Linked DNA regions of Homo sapiens: regions 1, 2, 3 and 4 are each linked to region 5. Evidence: promoter capture Hi-C in human tissues and cell types (Jung and others, 2019). All regions are on one chromosome and are shown on one strand. Each heading gives the region's core, a stretch centred on a gene start or on the middle of the fragment in contact. The rest is flanking DNA. Distances are from core to core; before and after follow the strand shown. Region 1 has its middle 130 kb from the start of MED15. Region 2 overlaps MED15 (mediator complex subunit 15). Region 3 has its middle 110 kb from the start of SERPIND1. Region 4 has its middle 88 kb from the start of SERPIND1. Region 5 holds the start of SCARF2 (scavenger receptor class F member 2).

Evidence for each region. The method cuts DNA at HindIII sites, captures the fragments that hold promoters and counts their contacts. A contact is called where the count stands out against the background at its distance.
Region 1: a fragment that was not itself captured here is called in contact with the fragment with the promoter of SCARF2 in region 5 in 4 of the 25 tissues and cell types used here (IMR-90 fibroblasts, bladder, lymphoblastoid cells and 1 more).
Region 2: a fragment that was not itself captured here is called in contact with the fragment with the promoter of SCARF2 in region 5 in 1 of the 25 tissues and cell types used here (dorsolateral prefrontal cortex).
Region 3: a contact is called between a fragment that was not itself captured here and the fragment with the promoter of SCARF2 in region 5, in 6 of the 25 tissues and cell types used here (IMR-90 fibroblasts, bladder, dorsolateral prefrontal cortex and 3 more).
Region 4: a contact is called between a fragment that was not itself captured here and the fragment with the promoter of SCARF2 in region 5, in 4 of the 25 tissues and cell types used here (dorsolateral prefrontal cortex, heart right ventricle, mesenchymal stem cells and 1 more).

Annotation. Positions count from the first base shown.
Region 1 is chr22:20,634,904-20,640,015 of GRCh38, forward strand. It overlaps the pseudogene LOC100421121. Among named protein-coding and RNA genes, the nearest start is that of MED15, 130 kb to the left of the region's middle. The HindIII fragment of the contact is 6,289 bases long and covers 1-4,723 here.
Region 2 is chr22:20,583,901-20,588,777 of GRCh38, forward strand. It overlaps MED15 (mediator complex subunit 15), which reads left to right. Exons shown (of 18, transcript NM_001003891.3): 14 at 459-525; 15 at 955-1,115; 16 at 1,201-1,367; 17 at 1,828-1,926; 18 at 2,668-3,719. The coding sequence ends at 2,804. It overlaps LOC124905084 (a long non-coding RNA gene), which reads right to left. Exons shown (of 3, transcript XR_007068013.1): 2 at 3,929-4,061; 3 at 3,688-3,846. Among named protein-coding and RNA genes, the nearest start is that of MED15, 79 kb to the left of the region's middle. The HindIII fragment of the contact is 9,714 bases long and covers 1-4,877 here.
Region 3 is chr22:20,663,673-20,668,953 of GRCh38, forward strand. It overlaps the pseudogene ABHD17AP4. Among named protein-coding and RNA genes, the nearest start is that of SERPIND1, 110 kb to the right of the region's middle. The HindIII fragment of the contact is 5,707 bases long and covers 1-4,127 here.
Region 4 is chr22:20,683,618-20,688,420 of GRCh38, forward strand. No RefSeq gene overlaps it. Among named protein-coding and RNA genes, the nearest start is that of SERPIND1, 88 kb to the right of the region's middle. RefSeq lists a silencer at 3,325-3,545. The HindIII fragment of the contact is 7,577 bases long and covers 1-4,803 here.
Region 5 is chr22:20,436,468-20,441,549 of GRCh38, forward strand. It overlaps SCARF2 (scavenger receptor class F member 2), which reads right to left and starts at 1,358. Exons shown (of 11, transcript NM_182895.5): 1 at 1,115-1,358. The coding sequence starts at 1,287. It overlaps LOC107985588 (a long non-coding RNA gene), which reads left to right and starts at 1,529. Exons shown (of 2, transcript XR_001755623.2): 1 at 1,529-2,044. KLHL22 (kelch like family member 22) reads right to left here. Exons shown (of 7, transcript NM_032775.4): 7 at 5,052-5,082. The HindIII fragment of the contact is 17,878 bases long and covers 1-5,082 here.

The DNA of each region.
Region 1 (5,112 bases), core at 329-2,828, 200 kb after region 5:
CAGCAAACCCTCAGTGAGCACAGCTGTGGGCCAGGTGCTGGTGCAAGACCAGGACCACCTGCCCTGGAGAAGCTCATGAGCTGGAGGACAACAGGGAGACACCACTGCACCCCCCTGTCCTCAAGTCCCCAAGGTTGGAGCTTGGCCCAGGGAGCGCCTGGGGCAGCAGGGGCATCTCCCCCTACTTAGCAGAAGATTTAACTGAAAGAACCATCTGACGGAGCCCCAGCTGTCATCCCTGGGCCACAGTGGGAACATCACAGTCCCTCATCAACCCTCACAGTGACCCTGAGGCCCAGGGCAGCCATGGTCCACCTCACATAGGGCAGGCCGACCATGAGGAATGCACCACGGTTGCCTCATAGCGACCCTGAGCTCTAGAGCTGCCATTGCCCACCTTATAGAGGGGATGCTGACCAGGAGGGAGGCACCAACCAGGGCCACCCAGGCTCCGGCCAGCCTGAGAGTGGCCCAGCTGGCCCTGTGCCTGCACTGCCCTGCACCTGCTGCCCTGCCCAGCTCAGACCCTGGTCATATCCTCAGGAGTGATGGCCCCACAGCACCAGGGCAGGGTAGGTCCACACTGGGAGAGCCCCTAAAGGTACAGAGAAGAGCACTGGAGTCCAGGGAGGAGGGATTGTCCCGGCCCTGGTCCTGCCTCGCTGTGACCAGGGCTGAGGCATTTGCTCTAAATCAGATGGGGGAGGGGCATCTGTGGCTTCCTCTACAGCCAAAACCAGAGCCCCAAATAGCCCCGGTGGGTATGGAGGGGCCTTGGGGGAGGGGAGGAAATGGGAGGGGAGGTGGCTGCTTGGGGCTCTGGGTGAGGGCTAGGAGCTCCTACTGAGCTAAGCGGATGACTCTCCTATCTGACCTGGCCCCCCATGGGGCCTGCAAAAGCACCAAGAGAGCATCCCCAGCCAGGCCTGTGGAGGGGCCCTTGACCCCTCATACTCACTGAGCCCAGTGGTGGGAAGAGGGGGCTGGTCCCCGGCCAGTATTCTCCTGAGGACACCGACACTCACTGGTAACAAGCAAACCAGACCCAGATGCTCCAAAAAGAGGCCACTGGATCCCAGCAAGCACCCACTCCCCCCAACACGAAGGTCCAAAACCAAGCTTCAGCCAACTAGAATGTGGGAACTTCCCGGGAGGTAGAGGAAACAAGTCACTGTCCACTTGCAATGCCCACCGGTTAGTGACGCAGCACAATGACAGTCACACCTCTCAGAGGGGGCTCTCCCTCGACTCTCCTTCCTGACACATCAACAAGGACAGCCTTACCAAGGGCCACACCTGGGCAGTCACCATGGGGTTCGTGGTCTCACGTGGGCCCTGCTTAAAGCCCCTGGGGATAAGCTCACTCCAGCTCATGAGAGGCCGGGGGTGACCCTGACCCCATTTTCCGATCAGCGATAGCACAGCACATGTGGGGACCAATGAGAAATGAGTCTGGGGAGACCACGGGCTTCAGGGAGAATGTTTCGATGAGGCAAGTACAAGAGCCAGTGAGGGACTGGGTGACTTCTGTGGCCTGTGTCACAGAGCTGGGGCCATCAGATGCCCCATGTCCACTCTGAGGACAGAGTAGCCCATGGTTAGGATGACCCACCAGCCAGGCCTGGCCAGGGCACCCACAGGAGACAGGAAGGCTGTGAGGGCCCGGGGGCACGGAGCAGCTCTGAAAGGAAGGGGTGCTGGGTCCCGGGGCTCCTGGGCAGAGTGGTTGAAGAAGGTGAGACCCCAGACCAGCCAGATGGGCCCACTTCTCAGGGGACCCTGGTCAGACAAGGGAGCACCTCCTGCTCATGGAACACAGCAAGGGGCAAGGTAGGCACAGCCAGGCTCGGAGAACTCGTATTTGGGGGAGATGTAAATCAACCCAATAGACAAGGGAGCGATGTGGTGTAGGAGATGGGGTTTGTGCTGGGGAGAAATAAGGCAGAGAGTGGGGAGTAGAGAGCACCTGTCTGGGGTCTCAGGAGGAGCGATGTCCCAAGACTGGAGGCGGCCAGGGGCTGAGGAGCCCTGACTGGGCCAGGCCTGTGGCTGGAGCTGGAGGCTCGGGTTCAGCCTCAGTTTCCCCTCTGTGAAGCTAGGTTCATAATAATGGAAATTGACTTTCTGGGTGGCTGGAGAGACATTCAGATGGAAAATGGATATTCTATTTTGTCTCTGTCCTTGGTTGTTGTCATCTCAGGCTGTTCCAGCCCCAGTTAGCCTCGGGTCAGCCCCCTGCCCATGTTGGTCTCCCCATGAGCTCAGGCACCTCATCCCCAGCACAGCTGGCCTGGAGAAACCAAGATTCCCTGAGGCTTAAAATAGCTGGAAAGCCAGCCCAGCTGCAGGTGCCTCCCTGTAGGATAAAATGTAGGAGAAGATCTTCAGGAGCTAGGACTAGGCAAAATTTTCTTAGACTTGACACCAAAAACATAGTCTACAAAAGGAAAAATTGCTAAGCTAAGTTTCATCAAAATTTAAAAATTTGTTCTGCAAAACACCTTGTTAAAAAGATGACAAGTTACAGACTAGGAGAAAATATTTTCAAACAACATATATGAACAAAGCACTGTTATCTTGAGTATATAAGGAACTTGCAAACTCCACACAAAAAATCAAACAATCCAATTAGAAGATGGGCAAAAGACACGAGCAGACATTTCACCAGAGATGATACACAATGGACAAATAAGCCCATGAAAAGATCTTCAACTTCACTAGCCATTTGGGAAATGCAAATTAAAACCACAATGAAATATAATTTACACACATCAGAGTGGCTAAAATAAAAAATAGTGACAAGACAAAACTCTGCTGAAGATATAAGTGTGAATCACTCATATATTGCTGGTGGGCATATAAAATACCACAGCCACTGCAAAAGTGTGGCAGTCTCTTTTTTCTCTTTAGAGACAGGGTCTCCCTATATTGCCCAGGCTGGACTCAAATTCCTGGGCTAAAGTGATCCTCTCGCCTCAGCCTCCAGAGTAGCTGGGACTAAAGGCACATGCTACTGTTGATGTTTGGCAGTTTCTTATACGACTGAACATGGAACTACCGTATGACCTAGCAATTACATTCTGACTCATCTATCCCAGAGAAATGACAACCTGTGCTCATACAAACAACCGTACGTGAATGTTCATTACAGCTTTAATAGCAATAGCCAAAAATCTAGAAATAACTCAGCCATCCATCAGCAGGTGAACAGTTAAACTGTGCTACATCCATCTTATGGAATAGCACTCAGCCATCCAAAGGAATCAACTCTTGATACACTCAACCAGCTCAACCCTCCCCAGAACGCACCTGGGTGGGAAGGTGCACAGCAGATTGGGCCACTAGATTTACCCAGTGTGGAGGAAACAGGTACCTCCTCCTAGATTTTGTTCTTGGCAGAGATAAACCAGTGCTTCTCAGTCATTTTTGCTTTTTACTAGCCATGGGAGGTATTTTCCAGTAAAGGCTTCTATGACCAAATGCATTTGAAGGAATGTTCCATATGCTCTCCCACACGCCTTCAATTTCCTGAGAGTGACAAGAATACCAGAATAGCCAAGGTTCTAAGATATCCTTCAGGATACCTGTTTAACTTAAACTTCCCCAAACTATTTGATTATGAGACTCTTTTCAAGCATAAACATTTTCCTTCCAGGAACATTTGTATTCTTATAAGAAAATATTAGAAAGCATTCCAGGTGACTTACCTAATGGGAGAACCTCAGGCGCCAAGCCAGATGAGATAAAAGTTTCAAATAGTGCTGATAAGGTTTTCTTGGTTCAGCTGCCTCCCTCCAACTCAGCTGCTGTCACACTTCTAGGCAGTTTTGACTGGACTGTAAATTCCTTCTGGCTGGGGCCATGTCTCAGCACCTTGTGCAGGAGTGATACAAACTAATGCTTCATAATAAATACTTACTCACTGACTTTCTCTTTATTCATCCCAGGTGAGCATGTTTTCCATCCCCTTCAATCTCCACACTCACGGGCAAAAGTGAGTTGTGGGTCTTGGAACTCTCAAGAAGAGGAGGAGATCTTCAATTTGCATATGCAGAATCCAAACAAGTCATCTTGAGTCCCCACAAGTAGGTGGGCTTATTTCTCACATAACAAAATCGCCCCTCCTTTGCAGCCTCTACACCACTGCAGATCAAGCCCAGCTAAACCTTGCTGTGCTATCCTGAAGGTATTGCTCCCAGATCCCGGCTGTCAGCTCCTGTCCAGCATCACAGGGCAAGTCCAGAGACATGATCATGTAATTGACCAGGGATGACAAGTGGGTCCTCTCAGTGGACAGGTGTCTGCAGTAGGTAAGCCCTGTCAGGAGAGGAAAGAAAAGCATCATCATCTACCACCTGATACCCTTTGCCCTGTCTTATGGAGTCCCCAAAGTGCTGTCCCACACTCCCATCTTTATTTTTTTATTTTTCTGAGACGGTCTCGCTGTCACCCAGGCTGGAGTGCAGTGGCGTGATCATGGCTCACTTCAGCCTAAGCCTCCCGTGCTCGAGCAATCCTCCCATCTCAGCCTCCTGAGTAGCTGGGACTACAGGCATGTGCCATCATGCTCAGCTACTTTTTAACCCCTCCTTTTCTTCACAAGGAAGGCAAGGCTTGATGTCACTTGCTGGCTGAATGGCTTAATAGCTCTACAACCCTAGGGAAGTCTTATCACCTTGCTCAGCCACAGTCAGGGTGATGCCATCCTCCTCTGCTGGAAGCCAAAACATTTAATTGATAGGCTGGAGGCAGAGAAGGGACAGGAAAGAAGGTGGCCAATGACTCTGTGGCCTTGCTGTGCCTTTGTCTGCCTCCAATCCATACACAGAGAAAGACACTGTGAGATGTGGACAACTTTCTTTCAAATATCAGCTGAATACAGGTATTCATCCAAAAGAAAGGAAATCAGTACATCAAACAGTTATCTGCATGCCCATGTTTACTGCAGCACCATTAACGATAGTACAAAATCAACCTATGTGTGGAGGAATAGTACAGAATCAACCTAAGTGTCCATCAATGAATTGACAGTTAAAGGAAATGTGGTATATGTATGCAATGGAATATTACTCAGCCATGAAAAAGGATGAAATCCTGTCACGTGCAGTAACA
Region 2 (4,877 bases), core at 1,283-3,782, 150 kb after region 5:
AAACTGCATGGGCATTGGCATATACCTCCCTTTCACCTCAACTCAGGCTATCCCCCAACCCCTGTCTAGAAGGGTCTCTCTGTTCTGCTTGTCTGGATAGAATGCCAGTCACTATTGGGTGGTCCTCCAGGTCTTCATGGGTTGATCCTTTGTTAGGGTTATAGGGATGAGTGGGGCAGGGACTGGCCTACATGACAATGAGGCATTCACAGCCTGATCAGGGGCCTGGCCACTGTCCCTTCTCTTGACCCATCACCTCACTCTGCCAACCAGGGACAAGCAGCTCCTGGGGTTGAGGGCTGCCTGCCTTCAACTCTGGGTCTGGGAACAGCTGGTCAACTGGTAGGAGCTCCTGCAGAGGTTTCTGATGGCTGAGGCCCAGTGGCAGTAGTTGGGATCCTGAGCCTGAGAACTGCCATGTCTTCCACTCTTTCAGCCCAAGTCCTCTCTCTCTGCAGGTGTCCCCTGAAGACCTTGCAAAAGTGTGAGATCGCCCTGGAGAAACTCAAGAATGACATGGCGGTGGTGAGTGGGATGCCAGACACCCCTAGGGGAACCAGGGCTCTCCTAAGAGCTCCTGGGAGTGCTGCTGAGAGGGCCTTCAAGGTCAGGGCATCTGGGCGGGGGCCGGGCCTGACCTTGGACCCTGCCCACGAGGCTTCCTGGCCAGGTCTGCTGTGCTGGGTGGGAACATGGGAGAAGTCACCCTCTGTCTACGGCCCCCGTGGGTGCCTCCTTCACCCATTTCAGAGGAGGCAGGGACTGTAGGGAGGATAGGCTGTGGGGGTGGGGGATTATTCCCAGGATCAGCCAACATTGTCTGCACAAGGGTGGAGGCTGTGAGAGAGGCCTCGGGAATCTGACTGTGAGTGACCATGGGCCTGGGGTGTGAAGGCCCCCTAAATGGGGAACCCTCGGGTCCCGGGCTGCTGACCGTGCCCATCCTGTCTCCAGCCCACTCCCCCACCGCCCCCGGTGCCACCGACCAAACAGCAGTACCTATGCCAGCCGCTCCTGGATGCCGTCCTGGCCAACATCCGCTCACCTGTCTTCAACCATTCCCTGTACCGCACATTCGTTCCAGCCATGACCGCCATTCACGGCCCACCCATCACGTATGTCCAGCTGGGCTGGGCTTTGCGGAGGGCGGCCAGCCCTGGGCCGCGTGTGCCAGGTGTGGTCACCATGCCGCCTCCCCAGGGCCCCAGTGGTGTGCACCCGGAAGCGCAGGCTTGAGGATGATGAGCGGCAGAGCATCCCCAGTGTGCTCCAGGGTGAGGTGGCCAGGCTGGACCCCAAGTTCCTGGTAAACCTGGACCCTTCTCACTGCAGCAACAATGGCACTGTCCACCTGATCTGCAAGCTGGGTGAGTGTCCAGAGGGCCGGGACTGGTGTGGGAAAGCAGGCCCTGACCGCAGCCCCAGGACTCTGCCATCCAAGCCAGATGGCACAGCGCCCAGAACCCACCCTGTGTTCACGCCCCGCCAGGCTGTCTGCTCTATCCTCACACACACCGGGCTCCAGACAGCCTGGCCATGCCTCAGTCCCCACTGCCAGAGCCCGCACACTCTCACCTCCCCAACACAGATGTGGCTTTGCTTGCCTGGGCCCTAGGGAGGTGGTAGGCAGGACCTCTGGGCACCCATCAATGCAGAGCACTCCAGGCTTCACGTTTGGAAATCTGAGAGTCAGAGAGACCTCCTCCAGGCTTTGCCACAAGCTTCACCAGAACCTCCCTGGGTGTGGAGTCCTGTTCCAGAGCAGGGCTGTGAGGCAGGGCAGGCCGGGGCTTGTCCAGGTCACAGATAGAGCCTTCTGTGTTGCAGATGACAAGGACCTCCCAAGTGTGCCACCACTGGAGCTCAGTGTGCCCGCTGACTATCCTGCCCAAAGCCCGCTGTGGATAGACCGGCAGTGGCAGTACGGTAGGTAGACCCAGAGGAGCTGTCTGGGGACCCAGGGCAAGCAGGGGTCATTGTGGAAAACCAGGCTTCCACTGCAGCAGGGACAGCCTCTGTGTGCTCCTGCCCCTCCCCAGCTCAGGCCCCTCCCTCCCCTCTTCTGGCTCCTCCTGCACAGACAGCAGCGGGTTTTCCAGTGGTCGCCTGAGAGAAAAGGGTCTCTGCTCCCACTGTGTCCCTTCGCCCCTTCAACTTGTGTCACGTCAGCTGTCCAGGGTGGTTGTGTTCAGTGGGTGAGGGGTGAGTAAGCCCATGGCTCAGGGACAGTCCCCGCTCTTCCCAGAGGCCACTAGCTTCCCAGAGGCCACTACCTTGGCAGGGCTGCCAGGTTCCACTGGTAGCTTGGGCACACAGGGCCCAATCTGGGTGCTGTGGCTCCAGAGAGAACCACGGTGGCAGGGGGCAGTCTCTGAGCCCAGAGCTGGCACACAGCAGAGCTGGCACACAGCAGAGCTGGCACACAGTAGAGCCAGGCTGGGTCCCCAAGGTTGTTAGAGGCAGAGCCCTAGATCCTGTTCAGATTTGGTTCTCACTGACGATGAGGCTCTGGGAGGAGAGCCCAAAGGCCGGGCAGCGTGCAGGACACATCACCTCCTGGTGCTTCGGCCCGCGCCTGGGGCTACCCCTTCCCAGAGCACTGCCGGGTGTGCCAGGAGCGAGCGCAGCGCCGGCCGCCTTAGGTTCACGCCCACTGCTCTGTTGCAGACGCCAACCCCTTCCTCCAGTCGGTGCACCGCTGCATGACCTCCAGGCTGCTGCAGCTCCCGGACAAGCACTCGGTCACCGCCTTGCTCAACACCTGGGCCCAGAGCGTCCACCAGGCCTGCCTCTCAGCCGCCTAGCCAAGACTGCAGGGATGGCCCGCAGCCTCATCGGGGCCAAGGACACACGCCTCCTGTCAGACACTTCTAGGTGTTGGCTTCCTTAGAGAGCCTGGGGTTAGGTTAGCTTTCCTGCTTTTATCTTCTGCCTTGGGGACCTGCCAAACGAAATCCCACACCTGTACAGAACTGGGATAGGCGCAGTGGAGCGGGTTGCTTGGGGGGCGTTGGCCGACTTCTTAGAGAAGGCCCTCCATGTGACTTCCTCCCAGGAGCCAGATGCGATCCTCAGGCTGCTCTCACCGTGGCCTGTCCACGGTCCAGGTCCATCTCAGCAGCGTGAGGGTGCACTCAGGGTGTTGTTAGAGCGTCTCGTGTGTGCTAGACGCACCCCTACTCGTTCCTATAGAACACAGAGGACATAGGAAACCCTTAAAACACACATGGGATTCTCTGGTCACAGTTTTGGGTTCAGGCTATGCTGCTTTGGGCAGGTGGAGCACCCCCCGAGGAAGCCTGCAAGTCCAGGGCACAGGCTGCCTTTTGGAGGGAGGGCTGGCCCATAGGTGCTGCTGGCTCCCCGCCACCAGCTGGGCCTCAGCCCTCACGGCATTCCTGCTGAGCACCGTGGGGCACCCAGGGAGCAGGGGCGTCAGGGATCCTGCTGCCGGCACCCCTGTGCCGCTGGCATGAGGGCCGTGTCCCCACTGTGAAGGATGAAGAGCAAGGCCCTCAGGACCCGTGTCCTCAGAGCACCACACACTGAGCACCCAGAGACAGCGGGCCTGGCAGCGGGCCGGGCCATGCAGGGAGCGCCTCCCTATGTTGCCTGCCACTCTGGGCACCGGCCAGCACCCTCTGGTGAGAAGAGGTCCCCCCTTTTTATGTGCACTACCCCACCATCTGTGATTATAATAAATTTATTATTCCTGTGTTTGTCAGTTGTTCATCACTGTGTCCCCTTCTCCATGAATCTGGGCTCGCTGTCCTGTCAGGATGCTGTCAGCCTTGGGGCTGCCTGGGGCCTCTGCCTCCCTTCCAGGAGGGACTTGAGGTGCTGCAGCTGAAAGGCAGGGGCAGGGGTGTGGTGGGGCCTGCGGTGGCACCAGGCTGCCCAGGGCCATCCCCACCACCCAGGGCCTCACCTCTTGGGCCTGCAGAAGGTTGGTATTCCACAGCTGGTGGATGACCACTTACACTGCTGAAGTGTGGTGGGCTTTCGCAGGTGTGGGGACAGGATCATCGGGGAGTGCCATCATCTGCCTGTCCCTGTGCTGGCTGCCCACCCAACAGAAAGCCCTGGCGTTAGAGGCCTCTGCTTCCCTGTCTCTGAAAGTCATTACAGTAGCCAGAAATGACCTGCCCAGGTGGGTCTGAGCATCCAGGCAGCATACTTCCCCCAGGCAGTGCCCAGGCCAGTGTGGGGAACAGGGCCTGGCTCCCTTCTCCCACTGACCAGAGTGCTCTGGGTGCCAGATGGGGGTCTCGGACTGGGGTCTGTCCCTTCCTCCCCTCTGAAGGTGCCCTGAGGGTCAGATGTGCTTCAGTGGGTGACCAGCTAGCTGCCAGGCTGCCCTTAGTCAGGACCCTATACCCAGTGGGGCTTCTTGCTTCAGGGCTGGTCTCAGGGGACGTGCAGAGATGCAGGAGCCTGTCCTGCTGGTTGCACCGCTCAAAATGTGCACTCTGCAATGTCTCAGGGCAGCCCGGCAACTCGGGGAGTACCAGAGCCTGGTCCTGCTCTCCTAGTCCCCTCCAAAGGCAGGCTGTGGCCAGGGGCAGCAGGCACTGACCAGCTCCATTCTAATCAGGCCCAGGAACACAACTCACTTTTCTTGGTAAAAAGATTACTTTGTTTTCTTTTCTCTGAGAAAGTGGTTTAGGGGCTGTTGCTGCCCCCTCTTGTGGGCTCAGGTCAGCACAGGTAATCTGCAGGACTCCAGGGGAGGGGAGGAAGACAGCGCCCACCCAATGGACAGAGTGTGGACAGAGCGTGGCCATTGTCTGCTTTCATGAGCCCTGGAGACAGGATCCTAGAGCAAGGGACACAGCAGTTTGCTGACTGCAGTGTGGGAGCCTAGTAAATGTGGTCCT
Region 3 (5,281 bases), core at 24-2,523, 230 kb after region 5:
ATTTATTCCAGTCTTTGTAGTCTGGTCTTGTTTGTACCTGTCCTCCTCTAGATGGTCTTCCAGAAATTCCAAGGGTACTGACTATTGAGTTCCCTAAGGCTGGGGTCACTGAAGCTGTTTCAGCACCAGGGTGCCCTAAGCTCAGGTTCACTGTGACTCTTGCAGGACTGAGGTCCCAGAGGGCCCTGATGGACTTGGAGAAGATAAGGGAGGGGTTCCCTGGGTTCCCAGGCAAAGTGCTTCATTCACTTCCCTCTTCTTCCCATTGGAAGGAGTCTGGGTACTAAGCTTTGTGGATCTGGGAGAAGGGTGGCTTGGGCACTCCCATGGCCACTGCAGCTGGCACCACATACCCGAAGCCCACAGCCTCTAGGACCAGAGCAGCACTGGGGCTTGTCTGAGTCCTGTGGCCACTACTGCCTGACTGCTGCTGACTTATGTAGGTCTTGAGGCCGAGCTACTCTGCTGGTGGTGAAGCTGGCCAGGGTTTAGGTCCATCCCGCCAGGGCAGCAGGTTCTCTTCTACCTCCAGGCAGGTCTAGAGGTGTCTGGGAGCTCCTGCCTGGGATCAGGGCCACTGTGTTCTGCCTGATGCTGTGTCCACCGTGGTGGAGCCTGGACTGGGTTCTCCTCTTTCCTGCATAGGAAAGGAGTTCTCCCGGCACTGCACTGCCTGGAGTTGGGATTAGGGTAACACAGGCAGCCCTGTGGCCACTGTAGCGGATGTCATATATGAAACCCACAGCCTCCCAGACCAGCACATCATTGGTTGCTGGGGCTCACCCAAGGACCACAGTGGCTATGGCCTGCCTGCCACTGAAATTTATTCAGAGCCTGAGGCCACTTTAAACAGCTGGTGGTGAAGGAAGTCAGGACTCAGGTTTGTCCCACCGGGCAGTGGATTCCCTTCTAGCCCAGGTCATGTCTAAATGCTCTGTCTGTGGGCACCGGCCTGGAATCAAGGACCATGGGGTTCTGCCCAGTGCTGTGTTTTACTGTAGCAGAGCTGGTACTGGGCTCCAAGGCAAAGTTTAATGCACACTCTCTTCTCCCTCCTGGAAGTGGACACATTGTCTCTCTGCACTGCCTGGGGTTGAGGGAGGGATGGTATAGGCACTGCAAGACTGTCTTTTCCACCCTGTTTAATGTGTCTTTTCTTGTTTTTAAGCTAAAACCAGGTTCTGTGATCTGTCACCTGATTTCTTTGGCTCTTGTGAAGGTATTCTCTTGCTTAGATTGTTGGTGGTTCAATTTGATGTTCCTGCAGGGAGACAATCTTGTAGAGTTCTATTCTGCCATCTCGCTCCACCACTTCTCATTTATTTAATTGTTCTTCAACTTATTTCAACAATATTTTGCAGGTTTCAAAGTATGAATTTTGCACTGCTCTTGTTAATTTCTAAATTTATTACTTGTTTTGTTGGTATTATACATGGGTTTGTTTCCTTAATACCATTTTAAAGCAGTTTATTGATAGTATATAGAAATAAAATTAAATTTTTAGTATTGCATTTATATCTTGAAACTACGTCAAATTTATTTCTAATAGTATTTTACTGAATTTCTTAGAATTATATATGAGATCGTGCCATGTGTAAATATAAAAAAATTATTTTCTTTTCAATAAGGATGTTTTAAATTTTCCGTTCTTTACTACACCTCGCTACAATCTACAATATAATGTTGAATAGAATTTGCAAGAGTGGACATTCTTGTAACTGATTAGTCATTCACCCTCTCATTGCTGAGTATAATGATAGCTGTAAGTTTCATAGGTAACTACCACTAGTTTCAGGAAGTTACCTTATTGTTCGTAAATTTGGAGTGTTTTGTTTTTTTTTTGTTGTTTTTTTTTTTTTTTGGAGACAGAGTTTCACTCTTTTTGCCCAGGCTGGAGTGGTACAATGGCGAGGTCTTGGCTCACTGCAACCTCCGCCTCCCAGGTTCAAGCGATTCTCCTGCCTCAGCCTCCCAAGTAGCTGGGATTACAGGCGCCTGCCACCATGTCTGGCTGAGTTTTTGTATTTTTAGTAGAGACGGGGTTTCACCATGTTGGCTAGGATGGTCTCAGTCTCTTGACCTCGTGATTGCGCCCGCCTCAGCCTCCCAAAGTGCTGGGATTACAGTTGTGAGCCACCGCTCCCAGCCTGGAGTGTTTTTATTATTAGAATGTGTGATATTTTCTCAAATGCTTTCTGTCTGAGATGCTTATATATTTTTGTCTTTTATTCTGTTAATATGGTGTTTGCATGCAATGATTTTCAAATATTAAATCAATGGTGCATTCCTGGGGTAAATCACATCTGCGTATAGTGCATAATCTATTTTATATGTTTCTGGATTCAGTTTGGCAATATTTTGTTGAAGACTTTTGATTTTATAAAACAATGTGCTGGGCGTGGCGGCTCACGCCTGTATAATCCCAGCACTTTGGGAGGCCTAGGTGGGTAGATCACCTGAGGTCAGGAGTTCGAGACCAGCCTGGCCAACATGGTGAAACCCTGTCTCTACTAAAAATACAAAAATTAGCCATGCATGGTGGTGCACGCCTGTAATCCCAGCTACTTGGGAGGCTGAGGCAGGAGAATCGCTTGAACCTGGAAGGTAGAGGTCGCAGTGGGTTGAGATTGCACCACTACACTCCAGCCTGGATGACAGAGTGAGACTCTGTCACACACACACAAAATGAAAGATACTGTTCTATATTGTTTTGTGATACAGTTTTGGTGTCAGTAATCCTGGCTTTATAAAATGAATTGGGAAGTGTTCTCTCCCCTTTTATTTTCTGCAAGAGTTGGTGAACAATTGATATTAATTTCTCAGTGTGTTTGATAGATTTTGCCTGGGAAGCTACTTGAGATTTTTATTGTAAGTTTTTAAAATTACAATCCAATCTTTTTACCTTCTGTAGATCTATTTCGATTTTCTATTTCTCCTTAGTCCTTTCATCTATTTTAGTTTGTGTCTTTCTAGGAATTCATCCATTCTATCTAGGCTATCTGATTTTTTTAACATAAGATTTTCACTGCATTGTCTTGTATTTTTATTTTGTAATACTGGCAGTGATGGGTTTTCTTTTATTGCTGATTTTAGTAATTTGAGTCTCTTCTCTCTTTTTCTTGATTGACCTAAGTAAACATTTGCCAATTTTGTTATCTTTTCAAACATTTAATTTTGGTTTATTGATTTTCTCTGTTGTTTCATATTCCCTTTCTGTTGGCTTAACTCTTATTATGAAATTTTTTTTGTCTTTAAAAATTTTATATTTGGTTAATTAAAATTTAAGTTGATTTTGGGGTATCAACGCTTCTCTTATATGAAAATAAGAGCATGAATCAAGAAATAATGGGTTCCCAAATACTGCAGTGGAAACACATTTTTTTGGGGGGGTACAAAACAAGTATCCATGTACATATAGTCCTTGGTTCCCCAAGTCATTGAGTCAACTTAGTCAAAATAAGTAGCCTCTCATTTCTTATCTCATGAGGGTGGTCTTGCCTTGCTTGGAGACATTATAATGAATTCACTTGATGTAGTTACTTTTAAGCATACCAGTTTACTTCATATCCCATTTTCAACCAGTTATCGTACCCGGAATAATTGCTAGAATCAAATTCCATCATGCACAGGTAAATAAGTAAATTCTGTCATTTACTATCTAAATTAGATATATAATTATTTATAGATACGTACATATATTTTACTTGTAATTCAGTGAACATAAGGCTTTGTATGCTCTGTCTAAAATATGCTGTCTATATTAATTCTCATGATAGTAAAGAATAGAGTGATGGAGTCTATATTTTACATATATCTTCCATTTAGTAGCAGAAATAAAATCCTTGTACTTGATTTGGTAAATTCCTCCATTTAAATTAAGATGTTACTTCCCGGAAACAAAATTTTTTTTTCTTTTTTTTTTTTAAATTTTAAATCTTTAATTTCTGTTTTCACATATTTTCTTTTTGCTTCCAAAAGGAAAGGAGTGCGTAGCTCTGTTGACTGTGTACATCGTCCACAGCCCCTGGGTCGGGGCAGGGTCCCCTAGGCCGCCCGGGGGTCCACATGCAGCCCCTGGGGGGCCGGCGCGGGGTGAGGTCCGGGGGCCGCCTTATTGCTGAGGTCCGGCCGGTTGGGGCCCGCCGCTAGGCGCGCTGGCTGGGCAGCTCCTGGGAGATGAAGCGACGCAGGCGCTCCAGGTACTGGCTGTAGAGCTCGATGTCGTTGTGCCCGGCGCCCTCCACCCACAGCGGCTCCACCGCCTTGGGGCAGCGCTCGTAGAGCGCCAGCCCGTGTGAGAAGTCGATCACCTCGTCCTCCATGCCGTGGATGATGAGCACGGGCGACGTGATCTTGGACACCTTCTCGATGTTAGGGAAGGCGTCGAAGCAGTAGGTCTTGGTGTCGGGGAAGGCGACGCGCATGCCCGAGGTGAGCGGCGAGTGCAGCACCACCGCGGCACACTCGTAGCGCGAGGCCAGGTCCACGGTGGGCACCGTGCCGATGCTCTGCCCGTACAGGATGATGCTGTCCGGGCTGATGCCGTACCTGGCGGCGCCGGAGCAGGGTCAGCCGCGGCCTCCGACGCGGGCGCACCCTTCCCACCAGCGGGCGTCCCCGGGCCCAGCTCCGGATGCGACCCTCCAGTCTCCCCACTCAGCTAAGTCAGTGGGTCAGACCCAGGCTCCACACCAGTCCCGAGGGCCACCCCCAGCCCCCAACACCGCGGCGGTGGGCGAAGCCAGCGGCCCCGCCCTATTCCCTGGCGCTGCCGTTCACTGGCGTTTCCTAGCAAGGATCTGCAGGGATCCCGCCTACAGAGTGCCCCTGGGGCAGGGGTAGGGGAGGCCCTGGCACCTCTCCTCCTCCTGGTCACCCCTAGGTGCACACTGGGAACTGTGTGCCCCCTACATTCTGAATGCTTCACGCCTCCCTGCCCGGGTTAGAAAGCCGTTCCTGGTGCACTGGCCAGGACAGCAGACACTCTTCCTCCCTGCAGCCTTTGCCCACCCCCTTGGCCATGAGGAATTCAGGCAGCTGTGTCCCCAAATGTCTCCACCCGATTTTGGAGTCTCGGAGTCCCCACGCCCAATGAGATGCCAGTGCAACCCAGGTCAGCATCGAGGGTGGTGGCTGCGGAGGTGGCACCCCCTCCCACCAGCACCTTCCCTTGGGAGTGGACAAGTCCTCGGCCACCTCAGCACCACCAGCTCCCACCCAGGGGCACCCCCACCCCCAGGTCACTGGTGTGCGGCCCCTGACCCAGCTGATCCAGCAACAG
Region 4 (4,803 bases), core at 1-2,500, 250 kb after region 5:
GAAACCTCAGTGGATAGGGAGCATCATGCCCAGACCTCCACTTATCCTCTCTCAGCCAATGAAGAACCCAGGCAGGTGCCCCAGGTGAGATCCCATGGAACCAGCAGTCTGGAGTTCTTGTGGGGACATATGTCTTCATTTCTTTCAAGTATATACCTAGGAATGGAATTAATGGGTTATATGGTAATTCTATGATTAAGCTTTTGAGGAACTGTCAGACAAGCCATGTGATTGATTGATTGATTTTTAAAGACAGGGTCTTATTGTATTGCCCCAGCTGGTCTCCAACTCCTGAGCTCAAGCAATCCTCCTACCTCAGCCTCTGAATGGCTGGGGCTACAGGCACGTGCCACTGCACCCAGCTGCCATGTGATTTTTTTCTTCCCAATTTTCTCACTGAACATTAATCATGTGTATTTTCATGAATGGTTAAGTGTTCTTTGAGCATGTGGCTTTTAACATTTGCTTTTAACATTTAACATATCCAAATTTTAGTTGGCCAATCCCCTGTTATTGGGGACACTTCCAATTTTCATTATGATAAACAGCATTTCCATGGGCATCTTTTTTTTTTTTTGAGACAGAGTTTTGCTCTTGTTGCCCAGGCTAGAGTGCAATGGTGAGAACTGCAGCCTCCACCTCCAGGATTCAAGTAATTCTCCTGCCTCAGCCTCCTGAGTAGCGGGGATTACAGGTGTGCGCCATCATGCCTGGCTAATTTTGTATTTTTAGTACAGCTGGGGTTTCACCATGTTCGTCAGGCTGGTCTCAAACTCCTGACCTCAAGGGATCCAGCCACCTAGGCCTCCAAAAGGGCTGGGATTACAGGTGTGAGCCACTGCATCCAGCCCCATGAGCATCTTTAGGCATCAATCTTTTATGCATCTCTGGTTATTTCTCTAGAGCACATTAGTCAAATGATTGTATCAAAGGGCACAGGCAGTTTTGAGGCTCTCAGTGCATGATGATAAATTGCCTTCCAAAAAGGCTGTGCCCGTTTGCATTCTCAAAAGTAGAGTGTACACCCCTCCTTATATTTTAATAGTTTCCTGAGGTCACCAGAACATGAACATGGGGAGGGCAGGGACTTGCTTGGGCATCTTGGATACCATGCCCAGTTCAATGTGCAGTACTTAGTAGGGGTTTGTGTGACAGGAATGAGTGAGAGCACATGAAGGCCCAGATGAGTGCAGGGTCCGTGGGGCACAGAGGAGGGTACAGGTGTGTGAGCACCGTGAAGGCCAGCTCCATAGGACTTAGCACACGGCTGACGTGGGGACTCAGTGCAGACACAAGTGGTAACAAAGCAGAATGGTGCAGACTGTGGCAAGTTGAGAACTTATGCCTCTGTAAAGGGGGCAGCCACCACTCAGTTACTGCAGATTACTCTATCTTTGCTGAGGACAGTTGCACAGGTAGTGCACTGCAGAAGGGTAACACCTTAGAGGGATGTCATTTGCATCATAGATGCAAAATTCACAGGCAAAGACTGATGTAGTTTGTCCCTAAAGTTTTGCTTTGATTTGCAGATATTTATCCATGGCAGTTTCGTGAAAAACGTCTATAGAAGGTTTTGAGGAATGGGCACCTTTTAATTTGCTACTAAACTAAACCCCAAGGGCCCATTATATGCCAGCGTGGTCCTAGAGATTCCACACTCATTCAGTTCCTTTTCATCATAGGAAGTGGGCATTATAATATCAGGTCCACTATAAGAGCTGGAGGCTGGGCATGGTGGCTCATGCCTGTAATCCCAGCACTTTGGGAGGCCTACCTGGGCAGATCGCGGGAGCCCAAGAGTTTGAGACCAGGCTGGACAACACGGTGAAACTCTGCCTTTACAACACATACAAAAAGTTTAGCCGGGCTTGGTGGCATGGCCCTATAGTCCCAGCTATTCGGGAGGCTGAGGTGGGAGGATCGCTTGAGCCTCGGAGGTCAAGGCTGCAGTGAGCCCAGATTGCACAACTATACTCCAGCTTAGGCCACAGAGCAAGACCTTGTCTCAAAAAATAAAATAAAATAATAAAAAGAAAGAAAGAGAAAGGAACAGATCAATAGGTACAATAAAGTAATATTTGTATAAAAAAAGCAAAAGAACATATTTATTTATTTGGATATTTGTTTATATTCATAAACTATCTCTAGAAAGATACCAAGAAATTGAATCTATTTGGTTGTATCTGAGAAACTGCAGGAATAGGGACAGGGTTGAGATGATGCCTTCTGAATTTTGAAATATACAAATGTATTTTCTACTTAGAAATAAATGGGCCGGGCGTGGTGGCTAGGCCGGGTGCGGTGGCTCTCGCCTGTAATCCTGGCACTTTGGGAGGCCGAGACTGGCAGATCACTTGAGGTCAGGAGTTTGAGACCAGCCTTGCCAACATGGTGAAACTCCGTCTCTACTAAAAATATGAAAATGGCCAGGTGCGGTGGCTCACCCTTGTAATCCCAGCACTTTGGGAGGCTGAGGCGGGCGGATCACCTGAGGTCAGGAGTTCAAGAACAGCGTGACCAACATGGAGAAACCCCATCTCTACTAAAAATATAAAATTAGCCTGGTGTAGTGGCGCATGCCTGTCATCCCAGCCACTCAGGAGGCTGAGGCAGGAGAATTGCTTGAACCCGGGAGGTGGAGGTTGTGCTGAGCTGAGATTGCGCCATTGTACTCCAGCCTGGGCAACAACAGCGAAACTTTGTCTCACAAAAAGAAACAACAACAACAACCACAAACACACACAAAAATTAGCTGGGTGTGGTGGTGGGTGCCTATAATCCCAGCTACTCAGGAGGCTGAGGCACGAGAATTGCTTGAACCTGAGAGGCGGAGGTCGCAGTGAGCCAAGATCAGGCCACTGCACTCCAGCCTGGGCAATAGAGCAAGACTCAATCTCTAAATAAATATATAAAATAAATAAATAATATTAAGACAAAACTCATAAGGACATTACATAAACCAAGTTATGCCAGTGATTTTTTTAAAATATCAAAACAGGCAGTTTTATAGAAAAATATAACTTCAGGCCAGGTGGGGTGGCTAATGCTTGTAATCCCAGCACTTTGGGAGGCCGAGGTTGGCAGATCACCTGACCTCAGGAGTTCGAGACCAGCCTGGCAAGCATAGTAAAACCCCAACTCTACTAAAAATACAAAAATTAGCTGGGTGTGGTAGAACATGCTTGTAACCCCAGCTACTTGGGAGGCTGAGGCGGGAGAATCACTTGAACCTGGGAGGCGGAGGTTGCAGTGAGCCGAGATCGCGTGACTGCAACAGAGAAATTCTGTCTCAAAAGAAAAATATAACTTCATAAAAACAAAGTAGGGAGAAGCAGAAAAGTTTGTCTAGATCTAGAACCATTAAAGGAATTGAATGTTTATTTTAAAATCTGTATCCCGGCCGGGTGCGGTGGCTCACGCCTGTAATCCCAGCACTCTGGGAGGCCGAGGTGGGCGGATCACAAGGTCAGGAGATCGAGACCATCCTGGCTAACACGGTGAAACCCCATCTCTACTAAAAATACAAAAAATTAGCCGGCCCTGGTGGCGGGTGCCTGTAGTCCCAGCTACTCCAGAGGCTGAGGCAGGAGAACGGCGTGAACCCGGGAGGCGGAGGTGGCAGTGAGCCGAGGTGGTGCCACTGCACTCCAGCCTGGGCAACAGAGCAAGACTCCGTCTCAAAAAAAAAAAAAAATCTGTATCCCATCCCCTCAAAAATCTCACAAAAAAACAAAACCAAAGAAAAGCACCAGGCCCAGATGATTTTATGGACAGCAAACATTAAAAAGAACATAAAGTTTTTATCTTCTACATAATTTTTAAAAATTAATTATTTATTTTTGACAGGAAGTCTCGCTTTGTAGCCCAGGCTGGAGTGCAGTGGCGCGATCTCGGCACACCGCAACCTCCGCCTCCCGGGTTCAAGTGATTCTCCTGCCTCAGCCACACCAGTAGCTGGGACTACAGCCGCGTGCCACCATGTCTGGTTAATTTTTGTATTTTAGTAGAGACAGGGTTTCACTATGTTGGCCAGGCTGGTCTCCAACTCCTGATCTCGTGATCCGCCCGCCCCAATCTCCCAAAGTGCTGGGATGTGTGAGCCGCCACGCCTGGCCACTACTTTTTCTTTTCTTTGTGTGTTTTTTTTTTTTTTTTTTTTTTTTTGGTGTGTGTGTGTGTGAGATGGAGTTTCCCTCTTGTTGCCCAGGCTAGAGTGCAATGGTGCGATCTCAGTTCACTGCAATCCCCGCCTCAGCAGGAGAGCAGGAATCTTCAGTGATCCACTGGCGGATCTGCAGCCATTGTGCGCGCCAGGTCTTCCCAAGTCTTTTGTGCGCGCGCCTCTCCTTCCAGTACCTATCAAGCCAGCGTCCCCTAGCCTCCCGCCATTGCCAGCAGGTGCTGAGATCGCGCCATTGCACTCCAGCCTGGGAGACAACAGCGAAACTCCGTCTCAAAATTAAAAAAAAAAGGATGAAAATTTTGGAAAAATATGGAAGAAACCAAATGGATTTCTAGCTCAACTAAATCGTAATTATTCAGTGTCTAGTTTTTGCAAGAAACCATATATTTCATGTCCACAATCGGCCACAGTCCCAGCTCTCAAGTGTAGGTCTTTCCTAAGCAAATTGAAGAACACAGGCATAAAAGTGCATTAAGTCAATAAACATTTTTCTCTGTGTCTCTCTCTCTCTTTTTTTTTTTTTTTTTTTGAGACGGAGGTTCGCACTGTCACCCAGGCTGGAGTGCAGTGGTGAGATCTCGGGTGACTGCAAGCTCCGCCTCCCGAGTTCACGCCATTCT
Region 5 (5,082 bases), core at 108-2,607:
GGGCCAGGCCGGCCCCCGCCCCGGAGGCGGGGCTCGCAGCGGGGAGGGGTCTGCGCGCCTCCGGACCAGAGTTCGGAAACCCCGCGCTGCCCCCTCGCAGCCCCTTGTCTCTGGCGCCGAGCCCCTGGACTCGGCTTGCCCCGGGTCCGTGGCTCAGGCGCCCCGACGCGACCCAGCTCGGAGCCCGGCGGCCGCCTCTGCGGCTGCCAGCCCGTGCGGCGTCTCCAATCCGCGCCAAGGCGCCCCCACACGCCCGCTCCTCACCCCTGCGTGGAGATGCCCTTGACCTTGTGGCCTTTGGCCAGCCCACCGGCTCCCCCGACCCCAGCTCCTAACTCCTGGCGTCCGGGGCTCACCTCTCTGCCCTCCGTGCAAACTCCCGGACTCGCCCCCCCACCGGCCGGGCCTGTCGCCTGCCTGTCCCACACTGGCTTCCCCAGCCGGCGCCCCACATTTGCGCGGCCCCTTCTTGCACCCAGAATCCCCACCTGGTTGTCGCCAGGGTTCCCACATCCTCCGGTCCCCTGTGCCTGTCATAGTCCTTCCGCCTCCCGCTTCTGGTCCACTTCGAGCGCCGGCTCCTCGACGCTCGCCTGGGTCACCACCCTCCCACCCGCGCCCGCTCTAAGACGCGAATCTGTCTTTCCAAGTCTGGCTTGCTCCAGGACCTCCCCGGCTAGCACCGCTCCTCCTCCCCTGACCTTCCTCCTCACTCCCACTCCCGGCTCCAGTCGGACTAGTGCGGGGCTTTAGCACATGCAGTTCCTTTGGCTTGAATGCCCTTCCCCAGCTTTTCCCCGTGGACTTCACAACTCGGTCAAGGGTCCCTTTTTCCAGGTCTTTCCTGATATCCCGGACAACGCGTGTCATCCCCTGGGTGCCCACGGCACTCCATCCTCCCCTCAGGTGACTTCTCGTCCAGGGTTCCCTGGGATGCACTGTCGTGGCCCATGGCCGAGGCTGGGCCTGGAACGGAGCCGCGCTGGCTAGGGAGCCGAAGGGGCCCACACTTGGCGTAGGAAGGTTCCGGTAGCCCCCTCCCAATGCCCGGCGCCGCCACACCACTGCCCAGAGCGTCCCTCTCGCCCCCTCCCCCAGCCAGGCCGGCTCCTACCCGGGAGCACGGCACACGTTGCGGCCGCGAGGGTTCAGTTCCTGAGGCGCCACGGTGTCCGGCAGCATCCAGAGCAGCAGCAGCAGCAGCAGCGACGGCAGCAGCGGTGACGGCGGCCCCCCGGCTCCCCGGCGCCGCGCCGGCCCGGCCCCCCGGGGCCCTGCGCCCTCCATGAGGCGCGGGGCAGGCGCGGGGCGGGCACGGGCGCGGGTGCGGCCGCAGCGAGAGCGGCCGGAAGCGGAGTGCGAGGCCGGGCGGGGGGCGGCAGGAGGGGCGCCGAGCCGGGCAGGAAATTCCACATCGGCTCCCTGATCCCGGGCCAGCCGCGGCCGGCCAGGCGGCAGCGCCCGCCCCGCGCTCCAGACCCCACCCTCCGGCCTAGCCACCGCCCCTCCGCGCAGCCCCCGCCCCCATTTGGCCGCTCGCAAACTTGGGGGCGAACTTGGAGGAGGCCCGCCGAGCGCTGGTGGAGGGAGGGTCCGCCCGAGGAATCCCCGGTTCCCGCGCCTTTCCCTCCGCTCCCTAGACATCTACCGAAGCAGCCGCCCCTGCGCGCCCACTGCGTAGGCCAGGCCCGGGACGGGAAGGCGGATCGGGGACACGGACGCGACTCCGCAAGCCCACCCCCGCTCCCAGCGCCTCGGAACCGGCCAAGGGAGTGGGGCCCGCAGACAGCCCAGGTCGAGGCCGAAAGCCAACTCCACAGCACCCCACCGCGAAGTCCTTGTAGTGCTGGGGTGTGCGGTCAGCTCCCCCTGCGCACTCCTGCGCACTCAGAGCTCGCAAGGGGCGGACCGAGCAGGATGCTTGAGGCCTGTGGTAGACTCGGTCCGGACCAGAGGCCTGGGGGAAGGGGTCTCCGTAGGGACGGATGGGAGAGATACAGAGGAAGTAGAATGGCCAGGCTGTGGACTGCGGTAGGAAGTAGAGGTAAAGACAGAAGGAGACCCCCGGGATGGAAACCCTGCAGTCCTAGTTGAGGAGTGAAGGGGGCTGGGGGAGCCTGGGCGGTGGATTCTGCTGGCTGTCGGATTTCCAGGAGAGGCTGGGGCTAGAGAGTGGGAACTCCTGCATCAGGTAAGGTGGGTAACAGCACAGAGCAGAAGGAAGGTGTGGGAAGGGAGCAAGACAGAGGGACAGGCCCTAGGGAGCCAGCGGGGAAGCTGGACTTGGACTGGGAGGCAGCAGGGTGCGGGTCCCCGGGGGGCAACTGGGGCAGACCGACTCTGGAAGTTGGGCAGGGAGCACAAATGTCCCGTGTGTAGCCAGGTCCTAGTGAGGATGTTTGTCTTTTGGGGACTTGAGAGCTGGCAGAAGGCCTAAGCAGGGAGCGGGCACCTCCGTTCTTTGGGGAGCAGGCCACATGCGGCCCACAGGCTCACTGAGGGAGGGCAGGCAGACTCTGTCCAGGTGTGGCCAGATAGCCCCGAAGGGTGGGGCTGGAGGAGGGGGCTTGGAGGAGGAGCCACTGAAAGGCCCAAGGCCATGGGCATCACCAGGCTGGCACAGGCAGAGAGTGGGATGGGGAGGAGCAGGCCCCTCACTCAGCCATGCTGGTGCAGGAGGGAGGTGGGGTGGGCTGAAAGAGAAGTGGAACTAGTGTGGACACGAATGCAACTACCTGGGGACAAATAAACAGGCCAACCACTTCTGGGCAGCTCAGCCTGGGCACAGCCCTGACCTCAGCAATGCCCTCCCAGTGCTGGGGCCCCTCCCACGGAGGATCCGGATTGCGGCTCCCAATAGAGGCCAGCAGAGGTCCCAGTGGCTGCAAGGTCTGTCCCAGCCCAGCTCCTGGCTTTAGAGGCACTGACCCCCTGGGCTGGAGGGGACACTCACCTCAGCTGGATGGAGGTCATGAATAGGCATATCAAATTCCATCACCTTTCTCCTTCCCCCAGACCTGTCCAGGGAGGGCACCACCTGGATGGTGCCCCCCAATCCCCCAGGACCTCCTAAATGTCTTAGATCTCTGCCCACCCCTGTCTGCCACCCAGAGTAGTCTTTTTAATCTCACATGTGGCTATCCACCACTGCTCTCAGGATGAGGACCATCCCCAGTCTCACCTCACGACCCGGTACATACATCCCTTGCAGTAGATGGCAACTTTGGGTGTCATGGGCAGAGCCCTCATTTCTCCCAACCACCACTGCACCCCTAGGGGAAGACTGAGAAGTATGGGAGGAATGAAGGATCATCCACATGGCACTAGGATGTAGAAGGAACCCACAGACAATTGACCACCACGCAGGCAAACTGCTGGAGCCCGGAGCCCTGGCCTGCTGGTTTTGGCCAGGATGGCTGCCAGAAGGAAGTGGACTTTGAAGGCTGAGGAGGGTTTTGCATGAAAGCAGGGACCAAGAGCCTAGCCACACTGGAGAGCACAAGTTGGGCTGCCTCAGCTCCGGGGTATCAGGTGTAACCCTTAGAAACCCAGCTTAGCCCCAAGGCTGACAGTGGCAGGGCCAGGCTGCGCCCAACTCCAAGGCACTCTCCACCCCTCCCCAGGCTGTGCAGGACCTCAGTGAGCCCTTCCTGCCCCTGCAGACCAGAGGCCTCCTGCAAACCTGTGGCTGTGGCTGGTGGCTCAGGTGAGATGTTGCCAGCCAGCATGTTGTCAGGACGCACTGGAGAGTGGTGGGGCATGTCTGGTGCTCCTCCTTTCCAGAAACCTCTGAGGTCTGCAGGAGCTATTGCCCTGGCCTGCCAGGTGGTAGCAGAGACACAGGAAGTGCTGGGTCTGAGACCCACAGAGTGGGGTTCCTACTCTGAACCCATGCTCTTGCGCCTCACCCTCAGGAGAAAGGGAGATGACACTGGAGTGTATAGCCATCCCGCCCCACTAGGGCTCAACACTGGGTCTGCCACCCCAAGGCAATGTCATGTTTCCTCAGGGGTACTCAGGGCCCAGGACAGTGAGGAAGGTCTTCAGGTTACACACACACCCACATACCACAGCCCTGGGGGCACAGGCCAACTCTGAGGGCTTTGTCTCTACCCTCAAGAATCCTTGGGGTATCCATTTAGGAGAGCCCAGAGTGACTGATAGTCCCCCGTCCCCATCCCCTCTCCTCCCATCAAGGAGCACACACTGCCCCCTTCTCTTCCGGGACAGGATGCCAGCAGGAACACATGGCTGTCCCCATGCTCTGCCCAGTCAACTGGGAAAGGATGGGGCCTTGGCAAGTTACAGCCCTGTCTGCGGGATGGCTCTGGGCACAAGGCTCATAGTAGGAGTCTGCAGGTGCAGACCCTATGAGGGCATCAGGATGGAAGAAAGCTTCGTGTGGTGCAGCCCTGCAGTGAGGCTGGTGTGGGCTCACAGCCCATCCATGCAGGGTGCAGGCTAAGCCTGGCAGTCTCAAGAGGGCAAGAAAAGCATGGGGACAGGTGAACAGGGGAGGGTCCCAGCTGCTGTGCCAGTGTGGTCCTTGAGACTGGGTGCCTAAGGGTTACCTGGCAAACCTGTAGCACATGCAGCTCCCCTCCCCAGCACACTCAGCTTCAGGAGGTTGGGAGGAGCCGGGCACAGGCCAGAGGGGCCCCCCCCACCGACCCCCTGATGCTGCCCCGCTCCCAGGTGCTGAAGCTCTGGTTCCCTGACCCTCAGGCTGAGAGACTCCTAACGAGCTGGGCTGAAACTCTGCGTGCTGCCCTGGTTGGGAGACAAGTTCCACACCAGAGAAGACACTCAAGTGGCTGCACAACCACCTGTCACCAGACCAGGGCGAGTTCCAGCTTTCCCACTGAGTGCCCTGTTAGCTTGTGGAGTTTACTGTGCTTCCCTCTCAGGCAGGGTCTTCCCAGTGCCACTTGGCTTCTGGCCTGGGCTTCCACAGCCTCTCCCAGATGGCAGCTCTGACCCCAGAAGCCACGCTTCCTGGGGACGCAGCTTGGGTGCACTGTGGAAAGGAACTGAGGCTGTGGCTACAGAAAAACAGTTAACACCTTCTGTAAGATGCTTTAT